4 separate regions of the Homo sapiens genome follow, and all the other regions are linked to region 2. The links are contacts of gene promoters, found by promoter capture Hi-C in blood cells and fetal thymus (Javierre and others, 2016). All regions are on one chromosome and are shown on one strand. Each heading gives the region's core, a stretch centred on a gene start or on the middle of the fragment in contact. The rest is flanking DNA. Distances are from core to core; before and after follow the strand shown.

Evidence for each region. The method cuts DNA at HindIII sites, captures the fragments that hold promoters and counts their contacts. A CHiCAGO score of 5 or more calls a contact.
Region 1: the fragment with the promoter of SC5D here is called in contact with the fragment with the promoter of ARHGEF12 in region 2 in 1 of 17 cell types (total B cells); the score reaches 5.9 in total B cells.
Region 3: the fragment with the promoter of NECTIN1 here is called in contact with the fragment with the promoter of ARHGEF12 in region 2 in 4 of 17 cell types (naive CD8 T cells, total CD4 T cells, non-activated CD4 T cells and 1 more); the score reaches 8.8 in naive CD8 T cells.
Region 4: a contact is called between a fragment that was not itself captured here and the fragment with the promoter of ARHGEF12 in region 2, in 3 of 17 cell types (total B cells, total CD8 T cells and naive CD8 T cells). The highest score is 5.9, in total B cells.

Annotation. Positions count from the first base shown.
Region 1 is chr11:121,291,439-121,294,138 of GRCh38, forward strand. It overlaps SC5D (sterol-C5-desaturase), which reads left to right and starts at 1,333. Exons shown (of 5, transcript NM_006918.5): 1 at 1,333-1,378. RefSeq lists an enhancer at 1,075-1,124 and a silencer at 1,295-1,344. The HindIII fragment of the contact is 7,130 bases long and covers 199-2,700 here.
Region 2 is chr11:120,335,129-120,337,828 of GRCh38, forward strand. ARHGEF12 (Rho guanine nucleotide exchange factor 12) reads left to right here and starts at 1,285. Exons shown (of 41, transcript NM_015313.3): 1 at 1,285-2,147. The coding sequence starts at 2,116. RefSeq lists a silencer at 872-1,741. The HindIII fragment of the contact is 6,393 bases long and covers 1-2,700 here.
Region 3 is chr11:119,727,838-119,730,537 of GRCh38, forward strand. NECTIN1 (nectin cell adhesion molecule 1) reads right to left here and starts at 1,363. Exons shown (of 6, transcript NM_002855.5): 1 at 638-1,363. The coding sequence starts at 716. It overlaps NECTIN1-DT (NECTIN1 divergent transcript), which reads left to right and starts at 1,746. Exons shown (of 4, transcript NR_120587.1): 1 at 1,746-1,969. RefSeq lists enhancers at 687-1,548, 1,549-2,409 and silencers at 959-1,278, 1,339-1,748. The HindIII fragment of the contact is 12,809 bases long and covers 1-2,700 here.
Region 4 is chr11:121,198,167-121,200,866 of GRCh38, forward strand. No RefSeq gene overlaps it. Among named protein-coding and RNA genes, the nearest start is that of SC5D, 93 kb to the right of the region's middle. The HindIII fragment of the contact is 1,326 bases long and covers 758-2,083 here.

The DNA.
Region 1 (2,700 bases), core at 83-2,582, 960 kb after region 2:
CATCTATGCTCAATAACATTTTAAAGTGTCCATTCAAATCATTTCATTGGGCAAAACAATGTTCCTTCCCTAATTTCCCTCATCAGAATAGCCATTTTGTCTCTGTGCTCAGCCTATACCACCAATTACTGTTTATTTCCTGTCCTTGTAATAAGCAACATAGTTATTTATACATGCCCATTTCTCCCACAGCACATAAGCTTTTTAAGGTTGGGAACCATGTCTTTGTCATTATTGTAACATCTCTTTCCATTCCCGGTGTTCAGTACGATGTGTTAAACGAAGTAGACACTCAAAACTTTTTAAAATTTATTTTTATTTATATAATGAGTCTTTTTTAAAAAAACCACCTACACTATTTTAAATTCATTTGAACTTTGTCCAGTATCCTATGTACATTTGAAGTTTAACTACCGGAAAAGTCTTTTGAAGGCAGATCGAATCATGTTATTTTTTTCCCTTAAAAATCCCTCATTTCTGTCATGTATTCCCCATATTATTTATGTAATAGGTAAAGTGGCCCAGTTTGCCACTTTGAAGTTGCTGAGCTGGTATCACAAGTCAGTCCCCTCTGTTTTAATCTCTGTTTAAGGAAAGTCACTCTGAAACGACAGATCTTTTGGTTCCTTATTTCTGCTTTCCTCCGTCCTCTTCTGCCTGTGAAGCCACCCTCCTCTGCTCAGCTCTGTTTCAGGAAATCGGAGCTGCTCGATTCATGTGTAGCAAATCAAAGCCAATTAGATCTGCGTTAACCTTGGTTTTCAACAACTTGTATCGTGAAAAGGTTTCTGTCCATGTTTACCCTCATCTTGTCACCATTTAGACCCCTACATACACCGGCTCGCGGAGCCTCCAGCCATTCAGCGCTAGAAAATCGGGGGGACTACGTCTTAAAACCTTGAGCACCTGTTTGGGAACATCTGCACCTCCTCCCTTGAGGGAGAAAACGACCCAGACATTCGCGTCAAAGGAAGTGTCGTCTATTTCCCTCAACGCAGGGCACCCGTTCTAGGAATGTTTGTATAAACACCGTAAACCTGCCTGGTACCACCATGAATGACACAAGAGCTAGTTTAAAAAGAAAGCAAAGAAACAAACGCAAAACCCGAAACCGCATCCTCCACCGCAAAGGTACTCGGATGGGGCGCCCGCCCTCCCCTTAGTCAGAGGACAAAGGGGGCGTGGCCGAGCGCGCGGCGCCCACGTGACCGCGGAGAGCTGCGCGCAGGCCCTTCGCGCGATCTGCCGTCATATCAGCTTATGGCGCCGGTCGCTGATTGGCTGGCCGCTCCAGCCTCCCGGCCCGCTTGCTGGCTGCCCAGCTGCTAGGACAGTTTGCAGAGCAGTGGCGTGCGGAGCGGCGGCGGACCACCTCCAGGTGGGGACGGTGGGTGGGCGGGGAAGGAAGCGGAATACACCTGAGCGGGCTGGGCCGGGGGGCGATGGAATAAAAGAAGATGGAGAGACTTCAGCGCCTGGGACTCGGGTGGGCGAGGCGGAAGGTGTCCTCGCAGCACGGCTTTTCTCCGCGCCGCGGTTGGTTAGCGAGTGCCCTCTGGGTGCTAGGCGTTGGGCGGATGGTAGGATCGCGGTAGCATACGGATCCGAGTCCTGCGCCGAGTGAGAGGAGAGGCTGGCAGGTAGCCTGGCATCCCGAAGACTGGCGGCGAGGGCTGGGCCGGGGGACCTCGGGGCCTGGAGGGCTGCGCCACCTGGGAGTCCGGGCGGAGGGGCCTTCCGCTCGCGCTGGGAGGGATCGCGGGGCCGATAGGGAGGCCTGGACTTGAAGGAGCCGACCGTGGACGGGCTTAAAGAAAATGCAGTGTTTGATGTTGGGTGTTGCAGATCTCTTACTCAAGGGAATTCTGGTCTGGCTGCTGAACACGAATGCTTTACTTTTCCCTTCGTTCTGGGAGGGTTTTTTTCTTTTAAAGGCCAGAAGAATCAGGCTGAAGAACTGGTCGGTATCAGAACTCCTGACCATTGCAAGCCTCTGTTGCTGCGGCGTAATTAGAATGAAGGGACAGCAATCTGGGGCTGAGGAGACTGAAAGGAAAAGGGAAATAATCTGTTCCTTTTGCATCATAAAAGGAAAAATAATGTATACTGACATCCCTGTGTTACAGCAGAGTAGATTTGGAGGTGGTGTAAGTGAAGAAAACAAGACCTCAGTACATAGAGTTTCCAAACTGGAAAGTTTGTGGCAGCTCGGTACTTTTAGAGGAAACCCTCTGGAAGTTATTTGTCTTTATATCACTATCATTTTTTAAAGTTTCTAATGATTGATACCTAGTAAATAATAACTGATCCTTGATCATTTACAGAGTGCTTTTCCATTCGTTATGTAATGTAATTAATTAGCATGGGGTGGTACTCAGAATCCCTCATCTGCATATAAAACATCTTGAGAGATAACATAACGTGGTAGCAAAGAGAAAGGTTGTGGAATGTACATCCCAGCTGGTTTTTTCTGTTATTGTTGCTTGCTACTGAACAAGTTATTTAAATACTCTGACCTCAGTTTCCCTATCTATAAAGTGGGGAGCATAGAAGTACCTATCTCATAGAGGTATAGGGATTAGATGAGGTTATACAAAAATAATACCTGGTTCTCAATAAATATTAGCTATCATTTTCTATACTTTTAAAGTAGGGCAAAAAGATAATGGTAGACTGAGTTGTTCTAAGCCTAATATTGTT
Region 2 (2,700 bases), core at 35-2,534:
TTTATCTTTTCCTTTTTTTCCCCCCCGTTCTAACTAACGTCAGCGTGAGCTCATGCCTCTATTCGGGGATAATGATCCTTTCATGAACTGTTGCGGAATGACTTTTTGCAACAGCATTGTTAAGAGGTAATTGTTTCCTCTCTCCACATCCACTGTTTATTAGATTTGATTTGCTACTTGGATTCCACAAAATGGCTGAAATCCCTTGTCACCAACATAGGTTTAAGCTCAAAAGTCTGAAAATAGTTGGATAAAGGGAATAGCCACTTTGGATGTTTGCAGGCAGAACTGAAGAACTGTATTACATGTGGTACCTAAATTGCCAAAATACTGAATTATTCAATCATAAAACTAGATGGGTATCTAAAGCTCTCTACCCAGTAGGGGAAAAAACCGAAAAACCGTTTGGGAATCCTTCAGAGAGAACCGTAATGCTATTTACTGGATAAATATACTTCATTTTCTTCTCCCAGTTCTTTCCACAACACGCTTGTTAAGTCGCCATGGAAAGCACCATGCTTTATCAATTTGGCAAATAACACATTTCATTTTGCCAAGGCAGAAACAGCCTAAAAGTAATATTTATACCGAGAAACCCTGGCTGCAGTCCCCAGCTGCTCTCCCGCAGCCCTGCGCCTCCGGCTCATGCAGCGCTCTCCCCCCGGAGCCGGCAGGTGCCCAGGTGAGCGGGGCCTGCGGAGGCAGCGAGGGGCGCCGGCCGGGAACCGGCAGAACGCGTGCAGCCAGAAGACAGGAGAGATAATACATTCCCTTAAGTAATAAAAGTTTCCAGGACAAGGGGGGCTGGTAATTTTCAAAGAGCCTCCCGGCACGATGTCCTCGGGATCTGGGGGGCGCTCTCGGGCGGTCTCTGGTGAAAGTCGACTTAGTACAAACTGGACTCGAAGGGGCATGTCTCGGCACTCAGGGGCCCAGGCGCCGCGGGAGGTGGGTGGGCCTCCCGGGGCTGCACGGGTCCCACCTCCCTCTGCCCCGTAGGACTACTTTGCCGCTCTCCCAAACCGGGCTCCGGCGGAGGCGTCCGTTCAAGGGCGAGAGCGCGGCCCTGAGCGGCGGAGGGATCCCGGGTGAGGCGGCTTCCCGAAGTCAGAGGGGAGGGGGCCATAAAGTCGGCGGGGGACGGGAAGCGCGAGCTCGCGCCGGACGCGGCCAGGGCCGGGAAACCAGAACCGGAACCGGAACCCGCGCGCGCGCCCGCGGTTGCGCGGCCCCCACGGCCGCCGGCCTCCTCCGCTGTCTGCGCGCGCGCCCGCGAGGGCCTCCAGAACCCGGCGAGCCGGCCCTGCGCCGGGAGACGCCGCCGCCTCCGCCTCCCGGACCAGGGCTTCCAGGCCGGGCCGGACGGGCATCTCCCGCCCCTCGCGGGGAGCGTCGGGGAGGAGCCGCCGCCTCTGGCGATTGCGGAAGAGTCCGGGCCTCAAAGGGATGGGGAGCAGTCCGCGGCGCTGAGAGACCCGGGTCCCTGTCACCTCGGGCCGCGGGACCTCTCCGCCGGCGCCAGCGGCTCGTCCCAGCACCGGGAGCCTGGTGAGGGCGGCGAGCACAGAAGGAGCCCCGGGCCCGGGACATGGAATCGCGCGAGCCCGGCGCGGGACGGCCGGAGACGCGGCCAACGCTGCGGCCACGAGCAGCCGGCAGCCCCAGATAGAGAGCCGGGAGGGAGGGCCCCGGCCCTTGCCGCGGCGGGGAGTTCGAGGCCCCGAGACTCCGGAGGAGGAGCCGACACCCGTCCGTGAGCTGATCCCGCCCCAGCCCCGGCGGGAGTCCCGGGTCCCCTTCCCACTGCGCGCGGATTTCCCTCTCTGAGGAAGTTTATCCTTGTGCCTTCTGGAGGATTTCTCTCTAGCTCGACTCACTCTGGACTGACTCGCTCCCTGGCTTTCTCAGTTCGTTTTGGGAGATAACTTGTTTTGCTCCAAGCCGCATCCGTTGACCCCTTACAGTCGGATGGTCTAGATGACTGAATGGAGTTTTGAGTTGGACTTTTGTGTCCCTGACGGAGTTGGGCCTGATCCCAGAGCACTGGGGGTGGGGAGGAGGTGTTACTGTAAAATGCAAGTTGGATAAAAGGAGGACCTCTCGCCAAGGGCCCCAATGAGTGGCACACAGTCTACTATCACCGACAGGTTGGTATGAATTCCTCCTTCGTTCGGCCTCCCGGAATCGGGCCCGACCTAGCAGGGGAGTCGGTGATTGCAGATTGCCTTTGGCCAGCGAAGTTGACAGGCAGAGGAAAGAGGGTTGTTTCGGAGCTGTGCAGTTAGCCTGGGGTTGCTGCCGAGTTATCCAGTTGATTGGCTTTTGGAAATGTAATTTTTCCGGAGAGAAACTTCCCTTCCGATTCTCAGAGAAGGGGGAGGCAAAACCATGATTGTGGTTTTCCGCCTGTAGTGTGCATTAGGATTGTGTACTCGTCTGGAAATCAGAGGAGAAGGTCATTTTAGGTGAAGGTCGGTGCCTGAAGTCGGCTCGGTATTGGTGTATTATTTATCAGCTTTAGCCGTGTCCTGCAGTAGATTCTCAAGACAATTACATTTTAGGAATTTCTACCTGTGAACTTAATGTTGAGCCTACTGCATGGTGATCTGGGAACTTGATCTCTTTCAGATGTTGACCTGCACGGTGTTTAATTATTATCTAATAACTTTCCAGAATGTTGACATTACCAGTAAATCACAG
Region 3 (2,700 bases), core at 113-2,612, 610 kb before region 2:
GGGGAGCCCGGTCCCGCGCCAGGCCGGGAGGAGGCTGCCCCGGCCTCACCCTCCAGGAAAGGAACCGCAGGTGAGCGAGGAGCCGCCTCTGCCGCAGCAGCCGACTCTCCGCGCCCGCTGTGGGGCGGTGTGGGGCGGGAGGGGGCCCGAGCGTCCTGAGCCGTCTGGCAAAGGGGCCGCCGAAAGAGACGAAGCCCCCCCGCCATACTCCAAACCCGCAGCTCCGAGACTGACGCCCTCCCCCTGGGGCTGTTGTCTCCCACCCCAAGACGGTGATTACGGTGATTATTTTGCATTTATGTAACACGCAGTGTTTCCAAACTGCTTCCCGAGCAGAGAGCTGGTTATTAAATAAACAGAACGCTATTACATATTATTATTTTTTGTAAAGAACTGAGCGGAGAAAGTGCTTTCATGCTACATAGAGACGTGCATCTGACTGCTTCCCTGCAGGGCAGGCGGTTCGGCTTCTCAACCTCTTTCTCCGCCGTGCCACCTCCCACCCCCTTTACCCAAGCCGTGACCCAACTTTTCTGGCTCCTTTCACTCCCCACAATCCAGTCGTGCCCGCCATCCGGCTCCCAGCCCCGGGGAGGCATTGGATGGGGGTGGGGACAGCAGAGGTGAGCGCTCTTACCTGGGAGGAAGAATGCGGTCAAGCCGAGAGCGAGTCCCCACCAGCGTCCAGCGGCGCCCGCAAGCCCCATCCGAGCCATCGGGGGCCGGGGGTCCGGCGAGAGGGGCGGCGAGGGCAGCGCTCCTCGCGCAGCAGAAACCAGCCCGGAAGATGAGGGAAGATCGCTGGCGGTCGGCGGGCGCTCGAAGGATCCAGGTCAGCTGCAGCCGTCGGCCGGGGCGGGGTGGGCTGGGTGGGATCCGCGCGGCCGCAGTCCGGGCCCCGGGCCGCCGCCGGCTCAGAGGCTCGGCAGATGCCCGCCGCAAGTTGCACGAGTCATGCCCCTTCGCCTCCTCCGCTCTCCTCCCGGCGCCGGTCCCCGCCCTCTTCTTCCACGCAGAGCGGGGCTGGGGAGAGGGACCCACCCCCGGCGCGCCCGGCTGCCCGGTTGCGCGGCGCGGGCTCCTGGCCCCGGCCCGCTCACACCCTCCCGCTCGGCTCCAACTTGCAGGCGTCCATGGCCGGCCGTCCTCCGAGGGTGGCGGGACGCACCCGGGCGGCGCAGAAGGCTCGGGGCCCAGGCGGCGGGCGCGGGGCTCGGCGGTCGGCGGCCCGGGTGGCTCTGGCTGCGCGGCCGGGCGCGAGGAGAACGGGTCGGAGGCGCCGCGCGTCCCAGCCGCCGCCGCTCTGCCGGGTGCCGGCGATCCGCAACAATGTGGAGCCGCGCTCGCTGCTCTCGCTCTCTTTCTCTCACTCGCCGAGCTCCAGCCTCTCACCCGCTCGCCCGTGATGTCAGCCAGAGGGGAGGGGTTAGCGTTAACCCCCTCCTGGCCTCGATGCGCGCCCGCCGGGGCCCGGTCGGAGCCCGAGCGCACGCGCCTTCCCGACCGAAGCAGAGGCGGATCGCGAGCGCGGGCTGCGGGGTCCGGCTCAGGACCCTCGCTCGGGAGCTACCCCTCGGCCGCCTTCCAGCTGGGGAGCCGGCTGGAGCGCGGGCTGCCCTCCTCCTCCGCTGACAAAGGCAGGCAGTGACCCCTAGCGGCCGGCGGCGCCGAGGCGCGGCGGGTGGGGGTGGAGTTAGGACCGGGCCGGGGGCGGCGGTGGAGGAGAGGGCGGGATGGAGAATCCCGGCTAGCAGCGTGGGAGCTGGCAGGGCTTCTGCAAGCCCTCTGCTCCCACCCTGGCCCCATTTCACAGACGAGGAAACAAAGGCCCAAAGAAGAGTTCCGCCCGGGACGGAACGTGGCATAGCTCGCAACAGAACCCAGTCTCCGGAGATCCCTCTCCTCTGCACCACTTGGACGTTCCACGGAGAGGCAGCGGTGCGCGGGGCGACGGGGAGCTGCCAGAGAAGTCAGTGGTGGGCATGAGTGGGTGAGACGGGCCCACTGAGGTTTCTGGTAGAGTTTCTTTTCTAATCCCTGCTCCCTTCGGGGGTTCCTTTTCCAAAAATTGAAGCACCCCGCGCCCCGCCCTTGCCCAAACATAGCCTGAAAACGAGCTCTCCTCCAGTTTCCAGGACCTTAGTTTTGAGAGATTTGTGGGATTCCCGCGAAAGTGGATCGTCCAGTCAGTGTCCCTGGCAGGGCAGGGACTCTCCGCCCCATCCCGTTCACCACCCACTACATCCGGGTGTGGTAGGATTTCTGCCAAGGCGACTGCGCCCTCCGGGCCTTCCCTCTTCCCCTTACTCTGGTCCTCCTATCCCCATCCCCTCCCCCTGGGGGAGGAAGACAGACAGAGTTTCCCACTAAGGAGAGCCGAATTCTCCCCAGACCCTGGCCGGACACTGCTCCCTCTACCCTTTGCCCAGCCCTCTAGGCGGGCAGGAGCAGAGGGGAAGTGGCTGTTTCTGATAACACGTAAATTCTGGTTCCTCACTGGAGAAGGGGCAAAGACAGCGCCATATTCCCACTGTCTGGAATCCGGCCCTGGAGTGTCTCGGTTTCTCGCGGAAGTAGTCAGATCTGGCATTGTCATGAACACTCACCCACTCACTGTATGGTCTTTTACATTTAACAAATGTAACCTGGGCTTTCTTTGTGTCAAAACACAGTGCCTGGCTTGGGGATACAGAGACATCA
Region 4 (2,700 bases), core at 171-2,670, 860 kb after region 2:
TCTACTGGAATCAAGAACTAAGAAATAAAATATAAACACAGGATTGCCCTGAGGAAAAAAGTTTGAATTTAACAAAGTAATTCCTTGTAGACACTAAACCAATGTAAAGCAAGCAACCAAGGGCTTTGATGCCACTGCCTTTAAATAAACACATGATTTCATAAATGGAAAAAAAGCTAAACTGATTACCTTGAAAAATGAGTAAATAAATATTAGAGCAAATCCATAGATGTATTAGCTCGTTCTTGCACTGCTGTAAAGAACTACCTGAGACTGGGTAATTTATAAAGAGAAGGTGTCTAATTGGCTCACAGTTTAGCAGGCTGTACAGGAAGTATGGTTGGGAGGCCGCAGGAAACTTACAATTGTGGCAGAAGGCAAAGCAGGCATTTCTTCACATGGCCAGAGCAAGAGGAAGAGAGAGAGCGGGAGGTGCTACTCACTTTTAAACAACTAGATCTCATGAGAACTTACTATCATGAGAACAGCAAGGGGGAAATCTGCCCCTATGATCCAATCCCCTCCCACCAGGTCCCTCCTCCAACACTGGGGATTACAATTCCACATGAGATTTGGGCGGGGACACAGACCCAAACCACATCAATAGGATACTAAGAAACACCAGTAATTTCCCCCGAGGATGCTGCGAAACAAGTTCCTTGGCCATTCCTTTAGCTATAAAGTCCCAGTTATTAAGGACATTAAGGTTCCATTTTATTTTTGCATTTTTGTGTGTATGCGTGTGTGTGTAACTTAAAGCTTCAGGGTAAAAGTTGATGAATCTTAAAATTTTTAGTATTTAGCTCTAAAATTTTATTCTCCAAAACACATCAATATTTAGCAAAGGTTCTATTTTATTTTCCCAAAGTTAGATGGCACTAGAGTTTTGTTATTCAAAATCCATTCATCTCCATTTATTAGGCTTTCAGATTCTGAGAACTTCTTCGGCTTCCTCTGCCAGCTTGTCTACCTTTGTCATGATAATACTCAAAACTTGAGATTCAGAAAAGAAATTCTGACTTTTTAAATGAAAGAAATATGGACCTCTCAAACTGATCTCAAAGAAAAATGGGACCCAAGACTTTCATTAAACCACATGAAATAGAGCACTTGGCAAATGCTGGATAACAAAGTCCTCTGGGGGGAAAGAAAGAAAGAAAAAGAAAGAAAGAAAGAAAGAAAGAAAGAAAGAAAGAAAGAAAGAAAGAAAGAAAGAAAGAAAGAAAAGAAATTCTCATGAGTAAAAATCAGTGTTTTTACCTTTATGTTGTTGTTTGGGCAGAATTGATAAACTGAATCAAATTTCTCTTTAAAAGCAATTTAGAAAAGAATGAGTGTGCTGCTATATTCCTCTTATAAAAAGAAGTTTACTGTGGTAGGAAATGTAAATTCATGAGCCAAACACAAATTCCAAGAATGGCATCAACTTCAACCTGGGATTCTAGCTGTTCTTTGCTATAGTCGTAAAGTGTAAACTCAGTGGAAATTCTGAGCCTGATACATCTAGATTTAGAGCCTGTGTGTGGATTCCTAGGGGCCCTTTCTGAGGCAGCTCTCCTGCCTACTCCCCCTCTGTTTAATCAGCATTCGATGACTTCACGTGTCAGTCTGGCTCCTCTGGACTATGTCAGGATTTAGAAACAGTCAAAAAAAAAAAAAAAAAACACACACAAAAAAAACACCAAACCTGATTAGTTGACCCTAAAGATTAGAGTCTTTCAGTCAACTAAAGAATTAAGACTTTTATTTTAAAAGAACCTGTTATTGTTTATTTACCATACACTAAGCCCGGTGATGAGGGTTTAGCATCTATTATTTCCTTGAGTCCCCTTCAGTGACCTTAAAAAATGGTTATTTCCTGTTTTTATAAATGAAGAAACAGTGATTCAAAGAAGTTAAGTAACTTGCACAGGCCATTTTATTTGATTTCATAGAATTTTTGATGGAGTTGAAAGAATCACTGCAAGGGACCTTGTCTGGGCATCTCAGTAAACAAAATGTGAAATATAGTAGAATTTATGTTATGCAGCGTCACTGTCAGTTTGGAGGAGAGAGGTCCATCAAGCACACTATTGCCAGCAGAAGCTTATCATAGGGATTATCAAATTTCAAAAGAGCGCAGGCGTGGTGGCTCACACCTGTAATCCTAACACTTTGGGAGGCCAAGGCAGGAGGATCGATTGAGGCCAGGAGTTCAAGACCAGCCTGGGGAACACAGGGAGACTTCTATCTCTAAATAATCAAAATTAAGGCCGGGAGTGGTGGCTCACGCCTGTAGTCCCAGCACTTTGGGAGGCTGAGGCGGGCGGATCATGAGGTCAGGAGATGGAGACCATCCTGGCCAACATGGTGAAACCCTGACTCTACTAGAATACAAAAAAAAAAAATAGCTGGGTGTGGTGGCGCGCTCCTGTAGTCCCAGCTACTTGGGAGACTGAGGCAGGGGAATCGCTTGAACCCAAAAAGTGGAGGTTGCAGTGAGCCGAGATCGCACCACTGCACTCCAGCCTGGTGACAAAGCGAGACTCCATCTCAAAAAAAAAAAAAAATTAAAAATAAAAATTAGCTGAGCATGGTGGTCCATTTCTGTAGTCACAGCTATTTGCAGTGCTGAGGTGGGAGGATCACTTGAGCCTGAGGGAGTCGAGACTGCAGCAAGCTGTGATCGCAGCACTGTACTCCGGCCTAGGTGACAGAGAG